Linked DNA regions of Homo sapiens: region 1 is linked to region 2. The links are contacts of gene promoters, found by promoter capture Hi-C in blood cells and fetal thymus (Javierre and others, 2016). All regions are on one chromosome and are shown on one strand. The core of a region is centred on a gene start or on the middle of the fragment in contact, and the rest is flanking DNA. Distances in the headings are between cores, read along the strand shown. Region 1 holds the start of CERS6 (ceramide synthase 6). Region 2 holds the start of FASTKD1 (FAST kinase domains 1).

What was found. The method cuts DNA at HindIII sites, captures the fragments that hold promoters and counts their contacts. A CHiCAGO score of 5 or more calls a contact.
Region 1: a contact is called between the fragment with the promoter of CERS6 here and the fragment with the promoter of FASTKD1 in region 2, in 10 of 17 cell types (naive CD8 T cells, activated CD4 T cells, erythroblasts and 7 more). The highest score is 14.9, in naive CD8 T cells.

Annotation. Positions count from the first base shown.
Region 1 is chr2:168,453,913-168,458,671 of GRCh38, reverse strand. CERS6 (ceramide synthase 6) reads right to left here and starts at 2,400. Exons shown (of 10, transcript NM_203463.3): 1 at 2,054-2,400. The coding sequence starts at 2,223. LOC102724081 (a long non-coding RNA gene) reads left to right here. Exons shown (of 4, transcript XR_002959433.2): 1 at 1-1,641. RefSeq lists silencers at 1,709-1,768, 2,219-2,348, 2,469-2,558, 2,589-2,808. The HindIII fragment of the contact is 1,842 bases long and covers 955-2,796 here.
Region 2 is chr2:169,571,245-169,575,858 of GRCh38, reverse strand. It overlaps FASTKD1 (FAST kinase domains 1), which reads left to right and starts at 1,994. Exons shown (of 15, transcript NM_024622.6): 1 at 1,994-2,190; 2 at 3,688-4,206. The coding sequence starts at 3,830. RefSeq lists enhancers at 1,783-1,882, 1,785-2,387, 2,243-2,412. The HindIII fragment of the contact is 12,279 bases long and covers 1-4,062 here.

The sequences.
Region 1 (4,759 bases), core at 1,151-3,650, 1.1 Mb after region 2:
GGCCATTAAATCTCTTCTACTTAGATCAATGGCCTGAAGGAAACTGACCAACTCACTTTATATCAATATGAGGACATTTGCTGTGACTGACAATTGAAAGCAGCTCACCCCTCTATGTAAACTCTAAGTCGAGTCATGGGATTATGGAAAAAAAGAAAGAAAATAAAAAATGTTTAGAAAGAGGAAAAATGAACTTCCAGTTTTCAACTATCACATTAGTGTTTATCTTTTTAGAGGCAGAGACAATCTAAGTACAAAGCCATCTCCATTCTAACAACTTAATTTTTTTAAACACAGTGAACAGCCTGGAATCAGCATAGAGAAGGAGGATGTCAGGAAAATTCGGCTGTTTGTGCACAGATCATGCTTTTGTTCTCCAACACATAAGACTGCACATCTCTTTCAAATGCATTATCTATCTAAAAGTGAGCCCAGCCAGAATTTATCAGACACAATTTATCATAATTCAGCAATTGTGTGTAGATCCCCTACTATGTGCCAACATAGAGCAAACCTGCTATCCCTGAGTCTGCTTGTTTTTGGAGAGCCTGCAAAACTGTATAGAGTTCATATTTTCTGTAACCAAACATTTGCTCTAGAGGTAACTCTACACCTGCAAACACACCCATTTTTTCACAGCACTGCTGTGACTTTTTTGATCCTTTTTTGTATAGGATCAATGACACATCTGTATTAGATTCCAATAATTTAAACATAGGTCTTAAAGTCTGTTGCTTTGTGCATGTCAATTTCTGCAGGCGAACAGCTGACTTCGTTTTCAAGCAACAATACTGTCCGGTGAAAAATATACCTTCCTGAGACAAAAGATACTTTTTGTCCCCATGAAGCTTTGTTGCCTCGTCCAGCAGCAAATGACTCAAAAGACGCGTTCTGCCACCCTCAACAGTCGTTTTCAGGCAAAGAGGAACAGCAAATGAGGTACCAGCAAAAGCTTAAGAAACAAAACCAAGGTGAGTTGAAGGCGGGGAAGAAAGGCGGAGTGGAAGCGAGAAATGCAATCTAAACTCTACTTTGTGATCTAAGAAATTCAGCCTTTACTGATGAATTGGGCAGAGGAAGGGGAGGGTACAAGAAAGGGGAAGATAATATTTTCTGTTACGAAAAAAAAAGTGTGCTGCTGTCCTGGTTTTCTTTCAGTAGCACCCAGAGAATGCATGGCAGGCACAATCTAGTTTCGCGACGAAAACGAATTCCATGAGAATAACACAAGTTTGTATGTGACACAATGGAGATATCCAACCAAACCGAGGAACTATACAATTGCATGACAATTCCTCAAAATTTTAAGTGCCTTCGAGTACCAAAAAAGAAGTTTATGATTATTCACAGGACAGGGTTATCAGTTTAATATCACCATTTTGCAGGATGTGGACCCGTCCTGTCACATCCTCTTTTAAAGAAACCGCTAATAACCTGAAATGCTATTATCCCCTATTTGCCAGGACTGTGGGCCTGATAGTTTCACGGATAAAAACCAAACAGCGACCAGAAGCCAGGAAGTCCCTGGCGAATTCTTTTGAAGCACAACCCCTACAATCCGTGTGCCGGAGCATAAAGATTGAAGTGTGCGCGGTTCCTCCTCCCTCCGGGCCGCGCGTCCGGAACGTTCCTGGCTGTCAGGTGGGTGGCGCGGGCCCCGGCGGGAAGCCCTGCCTGGCAGCCTTGCGTGGCGCGCCGGCGGAGAGGGGCGAGCCCCGCGGAATGCGGCGGGTCCTGAGCCCGACCACCGCTCACCTTTGTTCGCCTGCCCTTGCCGGGAGGAGAGCAGGGCCCAGGAGGAGGGCAGGGGGCGACCCTAACGCTCCGCGGCTCCTCCCCGGCGCCCGGGAGGAAATCCGTGGCAAGCCAGACCCTTTCTGGCTCCCAGAAAGCCAGCGGGGCAGGGGGGTCAGCAACCCCTCCCCGAACACAAAGGTTGGGAGGCGTGAACGCGAGCGTTGGGGGCGCGGGGGCGTGCGCCAGAGAGCGCGCGAGTGTGTGCGCGCGTGTGTGTGCGCAGGGGGAGGGGAGGAGGGGCTTCAGCCCTTCTTACCTCTCGAAGATGAGCCGCACCATGAAGATACAGAAGGCCAGGGGAAAAGCGAGATAGAGGTCCTCAGCCTGCGGGAAGGTGGCCTCCTCCGTGTTCTTCAGGTCCGCCCAGGTGACATTGTGCGGGAGCCAAAACCTCTCGTTCCAGAACCAGGCTAAGATCCCTGCCATCTTGCTTTGTCCACTCCTGTCCTGCGGCACCCGCAGCCCGCCAAGCTCTCCACCGCGCAGGGCGCCCGGGGATGCGCGCCCGGCTGGCCCCGAGCCTGTGCCGCCGCCGCCGCTGCTCCCGCCCGCCGCCGCCGCCTCCTCCGCGGCCGCTGCTCTCGAAGGCTCGCGGCGAGCCCCGGTTCTCTCCTCCCTCTGGCCGCGCTGGGGAAAGGGGCCGCCTTGCCCGTCACATGGCAGCTCGGGCCGCCCGCCCTGATTGGCTCGTCTTCGCGTCAAACAGCGAGGCACACACGCGGCCAACTCGCCCACACCCGCAGGGCAGGGCGCAGTCGCTGCGCCCTGGGCGCAGGGGCACCGCTCCGGGGAGTGTCGCCCGCCCCTGCTCTCACCGCTCTTTCGCTTTGCGCTTAGGGCGACGACCTAAAGTCGACCCCCCAAATCCGCCCTAGCCCCCTGGCTGGCTCGCACATGCTCAGAATGCTGGCTCCTGCCCCGCTGGGGTTTCAGGGCTCTCAGTCCTCTTCCCGTGCGCCCGGAGGCGGTGGGTCAGCAGGTAGGGGCTGCCGCCAAGCTTCAGAACCAGCCCTGCTCCAGGAGGACAGCAAAAAAAAAAAAAGGGGGGGGGAGGGGGAGGGGTAAAGAGCAAAGGAGGAAGTGGGAGGGAAAGGATCCTCCACTCCCGCGCTTGGAGAGGCAGGGTGAAAAATCAGGAACTGAGGCAGGATGGTTTGGCAAGAGCCTTCTGCCTCTGCCCCACGCCTGCCTTTCCCCAATCTTTGACTTTCCGGTCTTTTATACTGCTGCTTCTCATCAAAGTAGCTCCCCCAGGGAACAAGCCCCCCTATATTGATTTATGAGGTGGTACAAAAAATTAGGCACTTAATTGCTATTTGATTATTAATTGCTACTTGATGACGATGATGATGATGATGATGATGATGATAGCAACTGCAGCGTTCTGTAAAACCACCCCTCTCAACTAACCTCTCTGAAAAGGCTGCTAGACCACATTTTGACCTGGCACATCATGAGAACCTCCACTGTGCTACTCGGCAGGCTCATTATTTCTGCCTTTTGAATCTAAAACCTTTAAGGCATTAGGCCTGTGAGGCCTAACCCAGGCACCTTCCCTCCCGCAATGCATTTCCCCATTGATACAGGAGCCATGTGTGAATTCATTCCATGGCCCATGTATACATGGTTCTGGGGCATTTTTGTTCATTTTTCTCACATTCATTTTCTGCCTGGTGCTGCCAGTAGGCTATACTAAACCTTTCCAGTGGGCATATAACCGCACACACACACACACACACACACACAGAGAGAGGGAGTTTCTTTTACTCTTCCCTCCCCTCTTTCCACTCTATCTCTTGAAAGTGAAACTGAAGAATGGCCTATACTGGTGCTTCCAATTTCTCTCCCCTCATTTTCTTTTGAACTTCCATTTGGACATTTGTCTCCTCTGCTGCATTGAAACTGCCCAAGGTCACCTGTGATCTTCATGCTGCTAAACACAAAGGTCAGTTCTTATCTTAGTCCAGGCTGCTTAGACTAGGTGGCTTAAACAGCAGAATTTATTCCTCACGGTTCTGGAGGCAGGGAAGTCCAAGATCAACATGCAGGCAGATCCAGTGTCTGGCAAGGATCCTCTTCCTGGTTTGAAAACAGCTGTTTTCTTGTGTATCCTCACATGGCAGAGAGCACAGAAAGAGGAAACACAGATTAGTGCCCTATCTTCTTATAAGGGCACTAATCCCATTCATGAAGGTTCTACCCTCATTAGCTAATTACCTCCCAAAGACTCTGTCTCTGAATACTATCACATTGGGAACTAGGATTTCAGCATATGAATTTTGGGGGACACACACATTCAGTTCATAGCAGTTCACAACACCTCTGTCAGTAGCATTTGGCCCAGTTGTCAGGTCGTGTGTCTTAAAACATTCTTGACTTGGCTTCCAGAAACCTCACTCTTCTGGGTTTCTTCCTCCTTCATGGCCATTTCTTCTCAGTCTCCTTCCTGGTTACTCCTCACTTTTCTAACCCCTAGAAGTTATAGTGGCCTAGGAGTCAGTCTTTTTTCCTCTTCACTTTTCTATCTGAATGTATTCATTTGGTGATTTTATCCAGTCTCGTGGCTTTTAATGACATCTGTATGCCCTCCAATGTCATGCTAATAGCTCCCATATTTATATCTCTAGCCATGAACTTTTTCCTGACCTTCTGACTCTTAAATCCACTGGCAATTTAACACCACCACTCAGATGTCTAAAAGCTATCTCATGACCAAACTATTAATCTTCCCCTTGAAATCTCTTCCTCCTGTAGTCTTGGCTCAAGCCAAAAATGTGGAGTCATTTTTTCCCCTTCTCTCTTTCTCTCATACCTCCTTTCCAATCCATCCCAAATCCCATCAGCACCATTTTAAAACCATAATCTCACCATCTCTCACCACCTCCCCTGCTACCATCTTGGTCCAAACAACCAATACTTCTAATTCACATTACTCCAGTAACCTCCCAACTCCCAGTTTCAC
Region 2 (4,614 bases), core at 745-3,244:
CGTTCACTCAGTGCTCAATGGTGCCCAGGCTGAAGTGCAGTGGCGTGATCTCGGCTCGCTACAACCTCCACCTCCCAGCCGCCTGCCTTGGCCTCCCAAAGTGCCGAGATTGCAGCCTCTGCCCGGCCGCCACCCCGTTTGGGAAGTGAGGAGCGTCTCTGCCTGGCCGCCATCCCATCTAGGAAGTGAGGAGCGTCTCTGCCCAGCCGCCCATCGTCTGAGATGTGGGGAGCGCCTCTGCCCCACCGCCCCGTCTGGGATGTGAGGAGCACCTCTGCCCGGCCGCGACCCCGTCTGGGAAGTGAGGACCGTCTCTGCCCGGCCGCCCCGTCTGAGAAGTGAGGAGACCCTCCGCCCGGCAGCCGCCCCGTCTGAGAAGTGAGGAGCCCCTCCGCCCAGCAGCCGCCCCGTCAGGGAAGTGAGGAGCGTCTCCACCCGGCAGCCACCCTCTCCGGGAGGGAGGTGGGGGTCAGCCCCCGCCAGGCCAGCCGCCCCGCCCGGGAGGGAGGTGGGGGGGTCAGCCCCCCGCCCGGCCAGCCGCCCCGTCCGGGAGGGAGGTGGGGGCGGTCAGCTCCCCGCCCAGCCAGCCGCCCCGCCCGGGAGGGAGGTGGGGGCGGTCAGCCCCCCGCCCGGCCAGCCGACCTGCCCGGGAGGGAGGTGGGGGGGTCAGCCCCCCGCCCGGCCAGCCGCCCCGTCCGGGAGGGAGGTGGGGGGGTCAGCCCCCCGCCCCGCCAGCCGCCCTGTCCGGGAGGTGAGGGGCGCCTCTGCCCGGCCACCCCTACTGGGAAGTGAGGAGCCCCTCTGCCCGGCCACCACCCCGTCTGGGAGGTGTACCCAACAGCTCATTGAGAACGGGCCATGATGACAATGGCGGTTTTATGGAATAGAAAAGGGGGAAAGGTGGGGAAAAGATTGAGAAATCGGAAAGTTGCTGTGTCTGTGTAGAAAGAAGTAGACATGGGAGACTTTTCATTTTGTTCTGTACTAAGAAAAATTCTTATCCTGTTGATCTATGACCTTACCCCCAACCCTGTGCTCTCTGAAACATGTGCTGTGTCCACTCAGGGTTAAATGGATTAAGGGCGGTGCAAGATGTGCTTTGTTAAACAGATGGTTGAAGGCAGCATGCTCCTTAAGAGTCATCACCACTCCCTAATCTCAAGTACTCAGGGACACAAACACTGCAGAAGGCCGCAGGGTCCTCTGCCTAGGAAAACCAGAGACCTTTGTTCACTTGTTTATCTGCTGACCTTCCCTCCACTATTGTCCTACGACCCTGCCAAATCCCCCTCTGCGAGAAACACCCAAGAATGATCAATAAAAAAAATAAATAAATAAAATAAAAAAAAGAAAGTTGCACAGCATATTCCAACAAATATCAGTTTGGTACCTTTAGAGCCTTACTTTGTTGTAGTGATTATCAGCTGAAAATTATGTCTGTTGTAACTTTGGTAAGCATTCCACTTTGGTTATTTATTAGTGGTATTTTTTTTTTAAGTGTCAAGTGTCAAATCTTGGGACTATTAAAATACCATGGTAAGTAAAAAAAAAATATGGTCTGAGAACTGGTACCTATCCACGACATAAGTGCAGAAACTGAGAGTATGAGTTTGCATACTTTCAAAGTTACTCGACAGAGTTATTTCGTATATGCTAAAAAATAATAAGAAAAATCTGTACGTGTCTTTTCCATGTTTACATTTTTAAATTTCATTTTCCTAAGTATATTTTTGTGTATATTATAAAAGTAGTAGACTTCCAAGGACTAGGAGAACAACCTTAGATAGTAGAGAATCACCTAAACGACCTATATCTTCTTCAACAGCTTAAGCTGTGTACTGCGCTAGAGCCTCCCTCAATGAGGAACTACAATGCCCAGAATTCCCCCAAAATGCGTGAGCGACGTCCATTTCACCCACCTCGCCGCGACCCACCCTGGGATATGTAGTGCGTGACTTCCGCAGTGCACGCTGCGCCTGCCGGGCATTTTTTCCTGGTTTGGGGGCAAGGTCTCATGGGAAAGGTCATGTCTCTCGAAGAAAGGTTATAAACCCTGAGATATGAGGGTTGGGCGAGACATCCGAGCCTGTTTCGTTCCGTGTTGGGACCAGGAATAACCCTGACTTCTGAGCTTTCATAACCCCAGGATCCTCCAGAAAATTTGCGGCGCGCTGAGGGAAAACCTTGCTGGCAAGTCGGGACTGTGTGGCAGCGGCTATTTTTCTTTTCCCACCCAGCACGTTTTCGGGCTGGGGACATAGGGTTCAGTTGAGATACGGAGGCTTCCTTCGGGATATTGGGTTCTCTGAAGTGCGGATGGACTAGGGCAGGGCTGAGACCCCATTCATTCACTCATTTGTTTAGCTCTCCTTTATGCCCGGCGCAGAAGATACCCCTTAGGGTCCCAAGGCCCTTCCTGTAGTTAAGTTCCTTCCTTAAGGTCATTCAGCTGGGGCAAAGCTGGGGACTCGACACCTTTCTATGCTAACCATTGAGCTGCCTCCACTTTGAGCAGCTCAGTGGATGAATATAGTATCTTGAGGATACCTTTGATTTGTGCAGGGTTTTCTTGTGCAGGTTTGTGACCCAGGTCAGCTTAGGTCAGGATGCTGTACTGCTTGCCACAAAATAGCCTGTACTGTCGCGTCGTTTTTTCTTGTGAACAGACTGTTTGGCATAGCCGTAGAGAGGGGTCTGAGACATGAATTTAGTGATACAGCGTTGATTTGTTTGTGTAATGAAGCTGTTCAAGTGGAAAGAACTGAGTTGTAGTCCCTGCTTCACTAGTACTAGAAGGATTTTTTAAACCTTTTTGAACCTATTTTGCCTTATCTGTAAAATGGAAATAATATCAACCTGGAAGGTTAGCTGAGAGAATTTAATGAGATAATGTGTTTCAAACGTTCTTTGTAAATGGTAACATGTTGCAGAAATATTAGATTATATGACTTTAGTCCCTGCTTTTCTAACCATTACTTCTCAATTATAAATGTAAACATTTATAGCATATTTTTAAAACAAATTATTCTTTTTTCATAATTATCTTTAGTTCTTTTATTGTTTCAGCATGACTTGAAACATTACTTAATTTCTTAGTATTTCTTGATTGGTGCTTTAATTGTGTCGTTCATTGGTTAAAACCTATCCAAGGCCAGTAATGATTAAATTATATGACTTCTTTTATTTATTTATTTTCTAAAGAAAGGAATTATTTGAGCTCTTTAAGGGCACAAGAAAAAGGGGCAAGAAATTATCCTGAAAGCAAATAAACCTGAGACCATACTTCTGAAAAATTAAAAAAAAAAAGTATATATATATGTATGTATAAATATATATGGCTCTGAATTAATGCCTACACTTTTTAGAAACTTTGAAGGTGATTATTTATTTTAAACAATTTTCCTCTTTTTCGAAAAGACAGCTCTGAGTTTGTGGGCTTTTTTTTTCCTTTTATGGTAAATTTGAAAACTTTATGTAAATGTCAGATTTAAAACACTTTTAAAATGGGGTGCAGAAAGAAGCCCCTTTTTCTGGACATTTATTTTTTGATCAAATTCTGCTATCTGGTTTAGACTAAGAAAAAGTCTTTAGTTAATGCAGAAAAAATGTATTACTTTAATTTGAATTTTGGAATCATTTTGATATTAATGATGTAAGCATAACCATGTTAAACCAATTCTTTTATAGAAGCTGTACATTGGAATGCGTTTACAGTCATTGTAATGGAAGCAAAATACATGAAGGAAAAACTGTTATTTGTATCCCTGCTTATTGCACCTGACGACTAGTTGCAGATGGTTTTGTTTACCTAAGAAAACTTGTGATATAAATGAAAAAAACACCTGTTTTCCTAGAGTCATTGGTTACAAATATGCTTCGTCTAAGAGCTATTTGTCCATTCTCCTGGAGAGTGTTTCAATTTCGACCCATCAGTTGTGAACCACTAATTATTCAGATGAATAAGTGTACAGATGAGGAGCAAATGTTTGGTTTTATTGAAAGAAACAAAGCCATACTTTCAGAAAAGCAAGTGGGATGTGCATTTGATATGCTTTGGAAGCTTCAAAAGCAGAAGACCAGCCTGTTAAAAAATGCTGAGTATGTCAGAGACCATCCTCAATTTCTTACTCTTCATAATTTAGCTACAAATAAATTCAAATTAATGAATGACGATACCCTGGTGAATGTGTTATACGTCACACAACAGTAAGTAATTTACTTTTATATTTTATGGAATGATTATATAGTTTACATTTTAATTTTCTAAAAATCTCTTTATTTTCATTTTATTTATTTATTTTTGAGGAGTCTCTGTCGCCCAGGCTGGAGTGCAGTGGCATGATCTCGGCTCACTGCAAGCTCTGCCTCCCAGGTTCACGCCATTCTCCTGCCTCAGCCTTCCGAGTCAATGGGACTACAGGCGCCTGCCACCACGCCCGGCTAATTTTTTTGTATTTTTAGTAGAGACGGGGTTTCACCATGTTAGCCAGGATGGTCTTGATCTCCTGACCTTGTGATCCGCATGCCTCGGCCTCCCAAAATGCTGGGATTACAGGCGTGAGCCACTGTGCCAGGTCTAAAAATCTCTTCAAAATGAAAAATAATTTTTTTCAC